3 separate regions of the Homo sapiens genome follow, and all the other regions are linked to region 1. The links are contacts of gene promoters, found by promoter capture Hi-C in blood cells and fetal thymus (Javierre and others, 2016). All regions are on one chromosome and are shown on one strand. The core of a region is centred on a gene start or on the middle of the fragment in contact, and the rest is flanking DNA. Distances in the headings are between cores, read along the strand shown.

Region 1 (4,994 bases), core at 1,159-3,658:
AGTCACTCACCTAAGGTTAGCTGTTTTTATCCATTCTTTCACCCAGTCAGCAATTATTGAGAGCCTACTATGTGCCAGATCTGTACTCAGCAGTTGGGGTTATGAGTGAGAATAAAGGGATGTGACTAGTCAGGGAGGTGTGGGAAGGTTTATGGAAGGAAGGGACAACAGAGCTGTAGTCTGAAGGACTGGAGGAGTTGTTTCCAGGGGCTGAGCATTTGGCTGAACTCTTCTGCCCATCTAAAGAGGGTTGACTTAGAATCTTCATCAACTACCAAAACTCCAGGGCTGCACGTTTCTGCAGTGCCACTTAGGCTCTGATGGCATCTCCAGGGACAGAGAACTCACTACCACCAGAACCTGTGACAAAAAGGTAGATTCCTGAGAAAGGCCAGATGGTCCTGACTTTTTTTTTCTTTCTTTTTTTTTTTGAGACGGAGTTTTGCTCTTGTTGCCCAGGCTGGAGTGCAATTGCGCCATCTCGGCTTACCGCAGTCTCCGCCTCCTGGGTTCAAACGATTCTCCTGCCCCAGCCTCCTGAGTAGCTGGGATTACTGGCATGCGCCACCACGCCTGGCTAATTTTGTATTTTTAGTAGAGACGGGTTTTCTCCATATTGGTCAGGCTGGTCTCGAACTCCTGACTTCAGGTGATCCGCCCGCCTCAGTCTCCCAAAGTGTGGGGATTACAGGCATGAACCACGGCGCCCAGCAAGGTCCTAAAGTATTTTAGAACCCACAGCTGAGGGAATGGCAGGCCGTCCTCTCTTAGTCACAGGGTTTAGCTCCTGAAACACTGCTACCTAGCAGAGGGGATCTAGTTGTCCCTCGGTGGAAGGTATTAAGGAAGATGCCACTGAAGAAACATTTGAACAGGATCTTGAAAGATGAATAGGAGTTTGGGAGTGGGTCAGGTGAAGTCAGCCGCGTTCCAGCTTGAAGGAGCCAAGGATTAAGGTTCTGGTGTGTGACAGAATGGAGCTGGAATCCCCATCACTTCTGGTGGACTTCATCAGTGCTGGAAAGGGACAATATTGTTGCTATCTCATAGAGCAGGTATGAGGTTTAGACGGCAGAGCGTTAATGTAAGTCTCCCAGATTACGTATGAAATACAGTTTCACCAGGGTTGGTAAGGTCCAGTTGCCCCCAAGTGCAGAGAAGCGTTGCAACTTTCGTAGCAGGTGAGGGACGGGGTATGGTGCGAAATGTGGGCAAGGGTCAGGCCAAGCAGGGATGCGAATGCCAGGACGAGGACTTAAAATTAGGCAAAAAAAAAATAAAAGGGCTAAGGGATTGGTGGGGCGGGTGGGGCAGGAGAGGGCGAATGAGCGGCCACCGAGGAAGCTGCAGCATAATCCGGCAGAGCAGAAGTGGGCAAAGCACCAACGTTCTCGTTCTTTGTCTTCAAGTGGGCCAGGTAGGCCTTAGACCCTTGGCGGCAGCAGCGAAATCCTTTCCCGATGGGGTCGCCGAAGACGGACACCCCGGCGGGCCTAGTGACCGGTGGCCGCGCGCCACCTGGTGGCCGCAGCGGGTGGATTCGGCCGGGAGCCGCTGCAAAATTCGGGATTTTGCTTCCGGAAAGCTTCGGGAAACTGAGGTGGGAGGGGCAGGGGTTTGCGATCTTCCAACTTGATCCTGTCCTTATTCCAACCCCCTTTTACAGATAGGGAAACTGAGGAAAGGGGAAGGCAAACAAGGCTGGGCAAGGGATCCCTCTTAAACGGAAGGTTTCAAGACACCTGGGGTCAAGAGCCTAGGGCTTTCTTTAATAGCCCCAATGGCCCGGAGCTTAGTTTGCCCATCTGTTCTATGGGCAGGGGGAAAATGAAAGGGGAGGAGGGGAAACTTTAGTCTTTGCCGCCCACCCGGAGGTAAAAAGTCTTTAAAGACTACCCCGGAAAGAAGAGTTTTATATATTCCATTTGCATACGAACGCAGTCACCTCGAGTTAAACTCCGGTCCTTTAATCTCCGGTCCAATTTGTCCCGCAGCGGCAGGGAGAGGCCCACGTGAGTACCTTCAAGCCCCGCCTCCAGGGCCCCGCCCACAGGGCTGGGCTTCGTTGCACGTGCTCACCCGGCTGCCTCGCGATCCACCTCCTCGCAAAGACTCATTGTTGGGGTGGGGGGTTACGAGGACTCTTAGGGAACTTTGATCAGGTAGAAATCACAATCAAGACAAGGCCCGGAAGTATCCGCTTACTACATAGACATCAAACGCTTTGTCATGGTTCTTGATATTGACAGACTTTAGCTTTCCCTTCTCAGGACTTCTTATCCCTCCTTCCACCCCTTCAGTTGGTGCGGTCGGCGTGGCCGGCCTCGCTGAGCGGACTCCAACTTCCAGCGTGCCCCGCAGGGCCTTGCGCGGCAGCGGCGTGTGACGTCAGGGGAGGGAGCTGGCCAGTGCTGAGGGGGCGCGGCGCGGAGGGGCGCGGAGCGGCGCGGAGCCGGGCGGCTCGGGGCCCAGAGAGAGCCGCGGCCGGGAGCTCGCGGGCTCCTGACAACCTCCTCCCCTCGGCGGACGACGACCACGGCGACTAGGGCGCCGGTCATGGCGGAGCAACAAACCCGGCGCGGACCCTAGGCACCACCGCATGGAGCGGGACGAACCGCCGCCTAGCGGAGGGGGAGGCGGCGGGGGCTCGGCGGGGTTCCTGGAGCCTCCCGCCGCGCTCCCTCCGCCGCCGCGCAACGGTGGGTGAGGGGCCTGCGACGCCCGGGCCAGGCAGGAACCGGCTTCCTGAGCCTCCGCCAGGGATCCCCCTCCTCTCTGCCGACCCTCGCCCTGGGAAGCCGCAGCGGCCCCGCGGCCCCTTAGGGTGGCCCTTCACCCCGTTCCCCGTTGGCGCGGACCCTCCCTCTCCTCCCCGGTCTCGCTCAGGGTGGATCCTCCTCCTTCGTCCCTGTTCCCTTCTGCGCGGACCCTCCCCCTGCCCGGGTCCCTGGGCACCGAGCTTCATTTCCCCCTCCCCCCGTCCCCTCTGCACAGGCTTCCCCTCCCCCCGTCCCCTCAGCACCAATCCTCCCTCCTCCCCCCGGGTCCCCTCCCCCTGTCTTCCCAGCACCGAACCTTCCCCTCCCCCCGGGCTCCTCAGGTTGGAAGTCCCCACCGCGGTCCGTCAGTGGGGGCATCCCCTCACTCGGGTTCCCTTAACGCAGAGCCTCTCTTTTCCCCTACAGGGGTTCCTCCTCCCACCGAGGACGCTCCCTTCTTGCCCTGTTGACCCGACTCCACAGCACCCTTGTACCGCTCAGCTTTCTAGAGCGTTTTCCTCTTCTGCAGCCTCGAGCGTTCTTCCTTGAATACTACGAGCCCCCCACCTCTGCCGAACCCCCGTTCGCTAGACATCCCCCAGTCGTTTCCTTTTTCGGACCCCTTCGCGCCTCCTGCTTCCCCTGCGCCTCACCTTCCTCAACGCCCCGCGCGCTCTGGCCGGTCTCCGCCCCTGCTCAGCTCCCCTCTCCGCCAGGCAACGGCTTTCCCTGGCCGAGGGCTCCAGCCCGCCCCGGGGCCCCGGACACCTGCCTCCTCCCGGCTTCTGCCCGGCAGGTCCCGGTCCCCACCTCTTAGTCTCAGTTCTCCTCTTTCTTGTCCCGATCCGGGACCTTGGGAGCTGAGAATCCCTCACCTGGCCCGGCCCTTCCTACCGCTCGTCCCTCGCCCCCTCGCCCGGGCCGGGTCCTCAGGTTCCTCGGGGCTTCCTCGCCCTCCTCCCCTTCGCTCCCTCCCCCTGCGGGGTGTTTTATTTGTATCTGTTTGATATTTTCCTCCTCGGTGTTTGCCGCGGAATGTTTTTATTGGTAACGTGTTAGGAGCTTTTGTGAGGTCGTAAAAGGTGAACTTTTGAACTTGGAAAGCGCCCTGGAGCAATTAGCGCAGGCGATCGCCCCGGGAGGCCTGCATTACAAAGGGTGCTCGCACCGGCCGGCAAACGCTCCGGCGGCAAACCCGATTTATTTATTTGCCCTGTTTTCCACCTTTCACATCTCCTCATTTCCGAATAAAGGGAGGCTCTCAGAGATCAGTGCCTCCTCCCCTCGCTGCGCCATAAACTCGCAGTTCTCTGAGAGATCTAGGACCGAACAGTGTCTAACAAGTAACAGATTTCAAATTGAATGCAAACACCCGGGACAGTTAGGAGGCACTAAAAATTAACTGCTTCACCAAGAGGTTTCTCAATCAGGACAGTGACCTGGCAGGTGTGAGGAAAGTAACCTGAAAATAGGTCAGTTAGGCGCTCAATTGTTGAATGAGTGAGTAGCTACAGACGGTGGAAATCTTGGGTTGGATCCGTGCCTTCATACGTTTATTAACTAGTCAAACATTTTGTTAGTTCAGGAGATCTGGTGTTTTTTACAAAAGGGAAAAGTCCGTGTAGAAGAGAGCTTGGTTAACTTCACTTGATGTTGCTGATCTTAAAAATAATGATGTGTTTTCAGAGCTCTTTTTTTTTTTTTTTTAATTTGTGTATGATGTATGATGGCTAGGTGGCTGGCCGTTCCGTGGGCTGTCGTTGGCAACTAATTTCTGAATGTGAACATGTTTGAGATCAATAAAATTCCGTGTCACAAAGGGGGAAGCTGGAATCCAGTTAGGGTAGAAGGAGACAGTATAATAGGAACAAAGGATTTCTTTAATGCCTTTGACTTTTTAAGCTAGTTTGTGTGGAGATTTGGTTTGGTATTAATTTGTGAGTGTTGTAAATCCTGATCTAAATTTTCCCATGCTGATTTTTTTGAATCCAAACCCCAACCTATCTTATATCCCATATTAGCGTGTATATTTCTGTGATGCCTTCCTATGTGTGAATACTTCCTGTACCCACCTGTGCATATAATGTAGATGACGGATTTTACTGCAATTCAATATTTACTGCAATATTGCTTTCAATTCTACTTGAGAATAATAGTGTTGTAAGAGAAACCTAAGAACTGCATTTGTTATTAATTATTCATTAGTACATTTTAAAGAACTCAATGGTAATTTTA
Region 2 (4,994 bases), core at 766-3,265, 610 kb before region 1:
TTAACAACTTGCTAAATGTGGAGTGCGAGCTACTGTGAAGTATAGAATCTCCAGGAGCTGCAGACACAAGGAGAATTTTTACCCACTCTCAGGTTCTTCTCTAGGTACATCACCAGGTGCTCATAAGAAAGGTTGGGGCAGGGCAAGAGGTCTGAGAAAGCCTCCTGCAGTCCCTGCAAGAAAGCACGAAGCTCCACTCACTGTCTCTATTTCCATTCTCTCCTTTATGGGACAAAAGACTTAAGCAGTGGGGTCAAGGTGGGAAAAGCCCTCAAGGCACAGAGGAAGACCCACTGCAGGTGAGGGAATCAAACAGAAAAACCCTCTTAATTTTAGGGGAAGGGCAGAAATACATCCTGGGCTCAGACTATTAGATCTCATCTGCTACTGGGGGAGGAGAAGGAGCTCTGAGACCCAGCTCCTGCCTAAAACTGGAGCTGACCCAGAATAATGGAGAATGCCATTCCAGCTCGCCAACATCCCCGCAAAAAAAAAAAAAAAAAAAAAAAACATAAAAAAGGCTTAAAATCACTAATAACAAGTTACAGTTGTGGGTCTACTGCTGGGGGAAAGGCAAGAATGCAGGGAGAGATGCTCTCTTGGGAGCAAATGCAAAGAGAAGACCTAAAACTGAGGGTAGGCTGGGTGCGGTGGCTCACTCTTGTAATTCCAGCACTTTGGGAGGCCGAGATCAGGAGTTCGAGACCAGCCTAGCCAACATGGTGAAACCCCGTCTCCACTAAAAATACAAAACATTAGCCAGACGTGGTGGCACGTGCCTGTAATCCCAGCTACTCAGGAGGCTGAGGCAGGAGAATTGCTTGAACCCAGGAGGCAGAGGTTGCAGTGAGCCGAGATCACGCCACTGTACTCCAGCCTGGGTGACAGAGCGAGACTCCATCTCAAAAAGAAAAAAAAAAAAAAAAACTGAGAGTGGATCGGACATTGGGAAAAAACCTTCTAGCAAGTCAGGCCCCACTCTAAACACTTAGTGATATTAGAGGAATGTCAAGCAATCTGAGAAAGAAAAATGGGCAAAAGATTTGAATAGGCTGGGTGTGGTGGCTCACACCTGCCATCCCAGCACTTTGGGAGGCTGGAGGATCACTTGAGACCAAGAGGTCAAGATCCTGTCTCAAAAAAGAAAAAAAAAAAAAAGATTTGACTAATACATTACATCAAAGAAGATACATGTATGGTAAATAAGCACATGAGGAGATGCTCGATGTTGTTAGTTAAGCAAAGTGATGCTAGAGAACTGTGGGGCCCTGAGGGCAACAGAGCAACACCAAACCCCAAAGCCAGCTTAACTCCTGGCTAGACTGACCAGCTCCCTACCTGAAGGGCCTGGCAAAAGCAGCAGCATTAACCAGGCACAGGGGCTCACACCTGTTGTTTTTTGGTGTTTTTTTTTTTTTTGACAGTCCTGCTCTGTCGCCCAGGCTGGAGTACAGTGGCGCAATCTCAGCTTACTGCAACCTCCGCCTCCCAGGTTCAAGCGATTCTCCTGCCTCAGCCACCCAAGTAGCTGGGATTACAGCCGCCCGCCACCATGCCCAGCTAATTTTTGTATTTTCAGCAGAGATGGGGTTTCACCATGTGATGGCCCCATCTCTATGCCATGCAGCTGTGTTTTGGGAGGCTGAGGTAGAAGGACCACCTGAGGCCAGGAGTTCAAGACCAGCCTGGGCAACATAGCAAGACCCTGTCTCTACAAAATATAAATAAATTAGCCAGGCACGTGGAATATGCCTGTAGTTCCAGCTACTCAGGAGGCTGAGGCAGCAGATTACTTGAGCTCAGGAGTTCAAGGCTGCAGTGAGCTGTGATTGTACCACTGCACTTCAGCCTGGGCAACAGAGCAAAACACTGCTTAAAAAAAAAATAGAAGAAGTAAGCCCATTTTCAGGTGTAAATGCTATTTACCTCAGTCTCTACTATCCTATACAAGATCCCAGCTTTCAATCAAAAAAATACGAGACACACAAAGAAGCAAGAAAAGCAACACACCGTCAAGGGATAAAGCAATCAACAAAATCAGACTGAGATATGACCCAGATGTTGGAACTTTTAGGGAATTTTAATAATTATGATTAATATGTTAAAGGCAATGGGAGAAAAGGTGAGTAGCATGTACCCACAGTTGGGGAATTTCATTAAAGAGATGGAAACTATAGGAAAGAATAAATAAAATGCTAGAAATGAAAGTCACAGTAAAAGAGAATGATGTTGACAGGCTCATCAAAAGACTCAGCATAGCTGGGGAAGTAATCAGTGAACCTAGGCCACGAGCAGTGGCTTATGCCTGTAATCCCAGCACTTTAGGAGGCTGAGGTAGGAGGATTGCTACAGGCCGGGAGCTTGAGACCAGCCTGGGCAACATCGTGAGACCCTGTATCTATACAAAACAATTTTTAAAAATTAGCCGGGCATGGTGGTGCATGTCTGTAGTCCTGGCTACTTGGGAGGCCAAGGCCATAGGATCATTGGGGCCCAAGAGTTTGAGACCACAGAGAGCTATGATTGTGCCCCTGCATTCCAGCTTAGGTGACAGAGTGAGACCCTGTCTCTAAGGAAAAAAAAGAAGAAAAAAATAGGGGAGGGAAAAAAACACAGAAACAGAACAGAGCATCCTAAAGTTAGGAGACAATATAAAACAGTCTTAAAAAATATATGTAATTAGAATCCCAGAAGAAGAAAAGGATCAGATGGATGGAAGAAATATTTAAATTTAAAACGCCAGGCCAGGAGCAGTGGCTCATGCCTGTAATCCTAGCACTGTAGGAGGCTGAGATGTGAGGGTCGCTTGAGGCCAGGACATTGAGACCAGCCTGGTCAACATAGCGAGACCCCATCTCTATATTAATAAAAGTAAAAAATTATAAAACGCCATAAATTTTCCAAAATTAATGAAAGACATCAAATAACAGATCCAAGAAGCTCATGGACATAAATGTAAAACCTAAAACTACAAAACTTCTAGAAGAAAATACAGAAGAAAACCCTTGTGACCTTGGGTTTCTTTGCTACAATACCAAAAGCACAAAGAAAAAAATTGGTGGCCAGGTGCAGTGGCTCCTGCCTGTAATTCCAACACTTTGGGAGGCCGAGGTGGCTGGATCACTTGAGGTCAGGAGTTTGAGACCAGCCTGGCCAATATGGTGAAACCTCGTCTCTATTAAAAATACTAAAATTAGCCAGGCATGGTGGCGCATGCCTGTAATCTCAGCTGCTCCTGTGGCTGAGGCACGAGAATCGCTTGAACCCAGGAGTCAGAGGCTGCAATGAGCCAAGATCGCACCACTGTGCAACAGAGTGAGACTCTGTCTCAAAAAAAAAAAAAAAAGAAAATTTTCCAGAAAGTAAAAAGACAACCTGCAGAATAGGGGAAGACATTTCCAAATCATATATCTGATACGGGGTACTATCCAGAATATATAAAGAACTCCTATAACTCAGCAACAAAGAAACCAAGCAACCCAATTTAAAAATAGTTAAGGACAGCCAGGCACAGTGGCTCACGCCTGTAATCCCAGCACTTTGGGAGGCTGAGGGGGGCAGATCATGAGGTCAGGAGATCAAGACCATCCTGGCTAAGACGGTGAAACCCTGTGTCTACTAAAAATATTTTAAAAATTAGCCGGGCATGGTGGCGGGCACCTGTAGTCCCAGCTACTCAGGAGACTGAGGCAGGAGAATCAGGAGAATGGCGTGAACCCGGGAGGCAGAGCTTGCAGTGAGCAGAGATTGCACCACTGCACTCCAGCCTGGGTGACAGAGTGAGACTCCGTCTCAAAAAAATAAATAAATAAAATAAAAATAGGTAAGGCCCAGGTGTGGTGGCTCATGCCTGTAATTCCAACACTTTGGGAGGCCAAGGCCAGTGGATCACCTGAGGTCAGGAGTTCAAGACCAGCCTGACCAACATGGTGAAAACTCATCTCTACTAAAACTACAAAAATTATCTGGGCATGGTGGCGGGCGCCTGCAGTCCCAGCTACTCAGGAGGCTGAGGCAGGAGAATCACTTGAACCCAGGAGGCCGAGGTTGCAGTGAGCTGAGATCACACCACTGCACTCCAGCCTGAGCGACAGAACAAGACTGTCTCAAAATAAAATAAAATAAAATAAAATAAAATAAAATAAAATAAAATACATTAATTAAATTAAATAAAAACATCGCTATGATAATGCAGTGAATACCTGGGAATGTGGCTTTAGCTGGAAATAGGGTCTTTGCAGATGTAATCAAGTTAAAATGAGGTCCTTAGGGTGGGCCATAATCCAGTTTGACTGATGTCTTTATAAGAAGAAGAGAGGCCCATAGGAAGAAGACGGCCTTGTGACAAGAGACAGAGACTGAAGTGAGGCAGCTGCAGGCCAAGGAACGCGAAGCGTTGATGGCCACCACCAGAGGCTAAGAGGCCATGAAAGACCCACCTAGCGTCTCAGAGGGAGCACGGCCCTGTTGACACCCTGATTTCAGACTCCAGTCCCCAGAACTATGAAAGAATAAGTTTCTTTTTTTTTCATTTTTTTTTTTTGAGATGGAGCCTGTGTTGCCCAGGCTGGAGTGCAGCGGCACGATCTCAGCTCACTGCAACCTCTGCCTCCCAGGTTCAAGCAATTCTCCTGCCTCAGTCTTCCAAGTAGCTGGGACTACAGGTGCCCACCACCATGCACGGCTAATTTTCGTATCTTTAGTAGAGACGGGGTTTCACCATGGTGGCCAGGTTGGTCTCAAACTCCTGACCTCAAGTGATCTGCCCACCTCAGCTTCCCAAAATGCTGGGATTACAGGCATGAGGCACCGACCCCGGCCAGTGAAAGAATAATTTTCTGTTGTTTTAAGCCACCCAGTTTGTGGCATGTTGTTGGTGACTGGAATGCCAGCATTCCTGCCCATAAACCTAGAATGACTGTGGAGAGACTGCATTCGCATAAGGATATTTTCATTGTCCAGGGAGCGTGGAGCTCCTCCCGGGCCAGCAGAGG
Region 3 (4,994 bases), core at 836-3,335, 600 kb before region 1:
ATATTTCGACCAGCAATACGCTGAATTCCTAAACAGCTAACAGAAATAAGATTACCATGGTTTTCACATTCATTGTTTACAACAGGTCCAAGGACTTGGAACTGAGAGCTGTTTCCGCTTTAGCATAAAATGTGGACGGTGTTCTGGATCTCCACAATAGCCTATATGGTTCTTTGGTCATATATATTTTTTCTTTTTTTAGAGACAAGATCTCGCCCTGTAACCCAGACTGGAATGCAGTGGCCCAATCTGCAGCCTGGAACTCCTGGGCTCAAGCCATCCTCCCACCTCAGCCTCCCAAGTAGCTGGGACTACAGGGATGTGCCACCATGCCTGGCTTATTTAAATTTTTTTTTTTTTTTTTTTTGTACAGACCAGGTCTCATTGTTTCCCAGGCTGGCCTCAAATTCCTGAGCTCAAGTGATCCTCCCGCCTTCGTTTCCCAAAGTGCTGGGATTACAGGCATGAGCTAAAACACTTTCTCTGGGCATGGGTCTTTTTTTTTTTTTTTTTTTTTTTTAAATCTATGGGCTATATTTTACTACCCTAAGTGGATGGAAAGGATTCTTCTGGAATGAAATAAGTGAAGCAAAAGCTCTTCGCTGAATACTTCAATCCTTAGGTGGAGGACACATTTATGGCCAAGAGGAGCTTCAGCCCTGGTTTCTCTCTACAGGATCACCACCCATTTTGCAGCAGTATGGCAGGCAGGCTCGTGAAGCTAGTGTCAGTAGCTCAGCATCCTGTGAGGAAAAGCTACGGAGCCCTGTACTTGCGGAAAGGGTTGAGTGGGTACAAGCGTAACAGCAGTCCAAGCGACACAGGTAAATTCCAAGTTGGCAAGAAAAGCTGAATGCTATTTTTGGTTCTAGGCGTCATACCACTCGTTTTAATATTGAAGAGTGGGCCGGGTGCGGTGGCTTACACCTGTAATCTCAGCACTTTGGGAGGCCGAGGCAGGTGGATCACCTGAGGTCAGGGGTTCGAGACCAGCCTGACCAATATGGCGAAACCCCGTCTCTACTAAAAATACAAAATCAGCTGGGCGTGGTGGCGCATGCCTGTATTCCAGCTACTCAGGAGGCTGAGGCAGAACTGCTTGAACCTGGGAAGCGAAGGTTGCAGTGAGCCAAAATCGAGCCATTGCACTCCAGCCTGGGTAACAAGAGCAAAACTCTGCCTCAAAAAAAAAAAAAAAAATACTGAACAGAGCAAATGGAAATGGGCCGTAAGCAAGTTTTTAACTATTTCCTTCTAAATGAAGTGCAATCAATATAAGAAAAGCGCCTTCTCACCAGCAAGGGAAGCCTGAAGAATGAGTTAGTACTCCTTGTCAAAAGTAACTTCCCTTGGCTGGAAAGATTAATAAAGGCCTAAATGAATATTGTGATTAGATGGCAACACTTTTGCTTTCAAAATGAAAAATGATAAATAGCTACCAAATATAGGCATTAGGCAGAAACTGTTAAATCCATAGATGAAGGTCTGGGTGCAGTGGCTCACGCCTGTAATCCCAGCACTTTGGGAGGTTGAGGCGGGCAGATCGCTTGAGCTCAGGAGACTGGGCAACATGGCAAAACCCTGCCTCTACAAACAATACAAATATTAGTCAGGTGTGGTAGCGTATGCCTGTTGTCCCAGCTACTGGGAAGGCTGAGGCTGGAGGATCTTTGAGAACAGGAGGCAGAGTTTGCAGTGACCCTAGATCCTGCCTCTGCACTCCAGCCTGGGCGACAGAGCCAGGCCCTGTCTCAAAAAAAAAAAAAAAAAAACCCTTAGATGTTCACCATTGTGTTAGTTACTGCCAGGTCATTCTAGTTCCTTCTTGTGCCATACTTAGCAAACACCCTTATTGTTCAGATAAAAAAGATGTGTGTGAATTCACGGAGAACATCAGAACATTCGGAAGTCAAATACGTTTTCAGAAATGCTTCTGAATATAAAATAGATGACAGAAACATAAAACCCTGTGAATCAAACTGCTCTCCCCTTTTAATCAGTTTTATAGAATATTTTACAGTACTAATCACATTAGGAGACAGGAGGGGTTTCCTGTACATATACAAGATTGTGCAAGCTCATTAATTGAGACTTATAGAAAGGTTTTATCTGTTTCAAAAGAGGCAGTACAGCTTTTTAATCCAGGTGAAGCACAAGAAGAATCCAGTAGACAGGAGAGTATTAATTTGACAGAGGTGAATTCCCCTAGTGCATGGCCGCTACCCACACTGTCTGCCATTATCCAAGTGGAGACGTCATCTCTCTTGAATTGAACCCTTGCTGAGCTCAGGCCTGTGGGATGCGGCAGCTCCAGGGTCACTCCATAGCTCAACCACAACTTAACACGGAAGCAAACTATATTTTCATTTATCCAAGTGTTCTCAAGAGTAATAAAGCTATTCCTTGTCCTACTACTTTCTAACCTACATTCTAAAATATATTAAGTAATTTTTAACCTGGCAAAGTTCTCAAGCATTTTGGCATTTAAAGTAATCGCAAATACCTCATCACTGTTAATCCACTTACTAAAAATCCTTTGGGCTTCAAGATAGTTTCAGATTTACTTCCCTTAAAATTAAAGCAATTGCGTACAAAATAAACTCACTAGACTTAAATATTTAAAAAGAGAGACAACAGCCTTTTCTTTAAAGAAACAAAGCAGGAAGAGATGGGAGAGAAAAATCTAGGAAGCACCAATTGAGGAAGTGAACCCCACTACACTTCTATCACTTTTATGCAATCCAGTAATAATTCTGAGTGTATTCCTACTTTCCCTCTTCACACCCAATCACATAGGAGAAAAACAATTTTAAAACACCTAGTTGACCTTACTCGGTCCAAAGTGGAAATTTCCATGGCAAACAATAGGAAAAAGAGTGCCCGGGTTCAGCACACCAGTCAGCTACAGATTCTTACGGCAAGAACACAGCCCCCGTATTGGGGCTGAGATTGTTCTCTTGCTCACGCACCTCAGGGACACATTTGTAAAGCCCACTTTAAACAAAGGCTTCCAGGACATAGGAATAGAAAAACCATGCAGCACATTTGCAATCCCTTAGAAAACCTGAGCCTCCTACTACAGCGATTTAACTATCTGTATCAGAAGGCCTTCATAAGCAGGTTTTTATAAAGAAAAAGCAGAAGAAAGCAATTACTGTGGCTGAGATTTTACCTAAAATGGAGAAAGAAAGCAAAATGTTTGACACGTTTAAATATATATACATATAATTTTGTGGTTGGGCACGGTGGCTCACGCCTATAATCCCAGCACTTTGGGAAGCCGAGGTAGGCGGATCACTTGAGGCCAGGAGTTCGAGACCAGCCTGGCCAACATGGCGAAACCCTGTCTCTACAAAAAATACAAAAATTAGCTGGGTGTGGTGGCATACACTTGTAATCTGAGCAACCAGGGAGGCTGAGCCATGAGAATCACTAGAGACTGGGAGATGGTGGTTACAGTGAGCCGAGATCACAGCACTGCACTCCAGACTGGGTGACAGAGCAAGACTATGTCTCAAAAAAAATTAAAATATAATTTTGTAAGTAAAGACAATCTTCAACTTGTATTTCTATTACTTCTAAAAGCAGAATATTAATACAAAATGCAAACCTGATTTTTCTTTTCCTCAGAGAAGTTAATCCTACAAGATTTCAGGGGACCTGAGCCAACTCTCTCTCCATTTAACATCCACTTTATAAATTCTATGTAGTAACTAGTGGCTGCTGAATGTTTCCTGGGCTGATTTTGTACTTTTACACTAATCTTTCATGTAAAGAAAGTACTGGAAGGCAGTGGAGGAAGAAACATTTGGGGAACAACTATTCCTCTTTTCTATTAAAAAAAAAAAAAAAAATCAAATCACTCCCCATCTCACATACCTGTCAAGAAATCAAACAGTGATGGTTAATGCCAAAGTAGTCCTTGCTCCTGACAGATTTTCAGAGGAAACCTTAGCTGCCCCTGCAACAGCTGTGCTGTGCTCCTCCGCCAGCTATGGAGTCATGAGCACCCGAACCCATTTCACAGGTGTCACAGATGTCAAATCTCTGGGGGGTCTACCCTCAGCCCCGGCTCCAACACAGCACAGCCCTATCTCCTGCCTCCAGTGTAGCCCTTCACCCCAATCCCACCACCTTCTCTTCCACAGAAAAGAGCCCCGATGCAATGTCCACATCTTCATATTTATTTCCACAGTGTTAACATGGAATAGACTTAGCAACCATTGCAGAGAAAAAAAAAATCTCTCATTGGTTTATGAGTTAAATCCTGTAACAATGAATTTCAACCATTCGAAGTCTTCTGCTGCTTAACATTTACTGAATCAAAGGCTGAAGTAAATGGACTCTCATCTAGGTCTCAGAAATCACACAGCTGGCCTCGTGATGTATTTACGATGGGATTTAACTTCTAATACAAGGCAAGTTTGACAGTTACAGCCAATGAAGTGCACGACTCTGTACATGGATTTCTTGACCTAACATTCAAAAGGACATTTCATAGTACTAGTTTAATTCTGATCTCTCTCTAGAAGGCAGAAACCACATCCCACACTCCTATGCAATTTGTTATTTTGGTATTGTAAAGTAAATGAATAAGAAGGGGTGGAGGCATAAAGAAAATCTAGTTTCTGGCTGGGCAGGGTGGTTCACGCTTGTAATCCCGCACTTTGGGAGGCCAAGGCGGGTGGATCACGAGGTCAGGAGATTGAGGATCATCCTGGCCAACATGGTGAAACCCCGTTTCTACTAAAAATACAAAAATTAGCCGGGCTTGGTGACATGCGCCTGTAGTCCTAGCTACTCGCGAGGCTGAGGCAGGGGAATCACTTGAACTGGGAGGTGGAGGTTGCAGTGAGCCAAGATCGCACCATTGCACTCCAGCCTGGGCAACAGGGTGAGACTCTGTCTCAAAAAAATAAAATAAAATAAAATAAAAACAAAGAAAAAAAAATAAAATCTTTAGGCATTCCCAGACACAAAGATCTCAGAGACAG

What was found. Contacts are between HindIII fragments. The CHiCAGO score rates a contact against its expected background, and 5 or more counts as called.
Region 2: a contact is called between a fragment that was not itself captured here and the fragment with the promoter of NR6A1 in region 1, in 9 of 17 cell types (total CD4 T cells, naive CD8 T cells, endothelial precursors and 6 more). The highest score is 7.9, in total CD4 T cells.
Region 3: a fragment that was not itself captured here is called in contact with the fragment with the promoter of NR6A1 in region 1 in 16 of 17 cell types (naive CD4 T cells, total CD4 T cells, total CD8 T cells and 13 more); the score reaches 16.8 in naive CD4 T cells.

What each region holds. Positions count from the first base shown.
Region 1 is chr9:124,768,725-124,773,718 of GRCh38, reverse strand. It overlaps NR6A1 (nuclear receptor subfamily 6 group A member 1), which reads left to right and starts at 2,408. Exons shown (of 10, transcript NM_033334.4): 1 at 2,408-2,699. The coding sequence starts at 2,600. It overlaps LOC124900274 (a long non-coding RNA gene), which reads left to right and starts at 3,239. Exons shown (of 2, transcript XR_007061773.1): 1 at 3,239-4,994. LOC107987126 (a long non-coding RNA gene) reads right to left here and starts at 2,362. Exons shown (of 2, transcript XR_001746926.3): 1 at 1,946-2,362; 2 at 1-1,017. RefSeq lists enhancers at 2,009-2,268, 2,059-2,626 and silencers at 2,339-2,918, 3,459-3,708. The HindIII fragment of the contact is 3,513 bases long and covers 1,588-4,994 here.
Region 2 is chr9:125,381,186-125,386,179 of GRCh38, reverse strand. No RefSeq gene overlaps it. Among named protein-coding and RNA genes, the nearest start is that of GAPVD1, 120 kb to the right of the region's middle. The HindIII fragment of the contact is 8,564 bases long and covers 1-4,994 here.
Region 3 is chr9:125,364,179-125,369,172 of GRCh38, reverse strand. GAPVD1 (GTPase activating protein and VPS9 domains 1) reads right to left here. Exons shown (of 28, transcript NM_001282680.3): 28 at 1,966-4,994. Among named protein-coding and RNA genes, the nearest start is that of GAPVD1, 100 kb to the right of the region's middle. The HindIII fragment of the contact is 6,213 bases long and covers 1-4,994 here.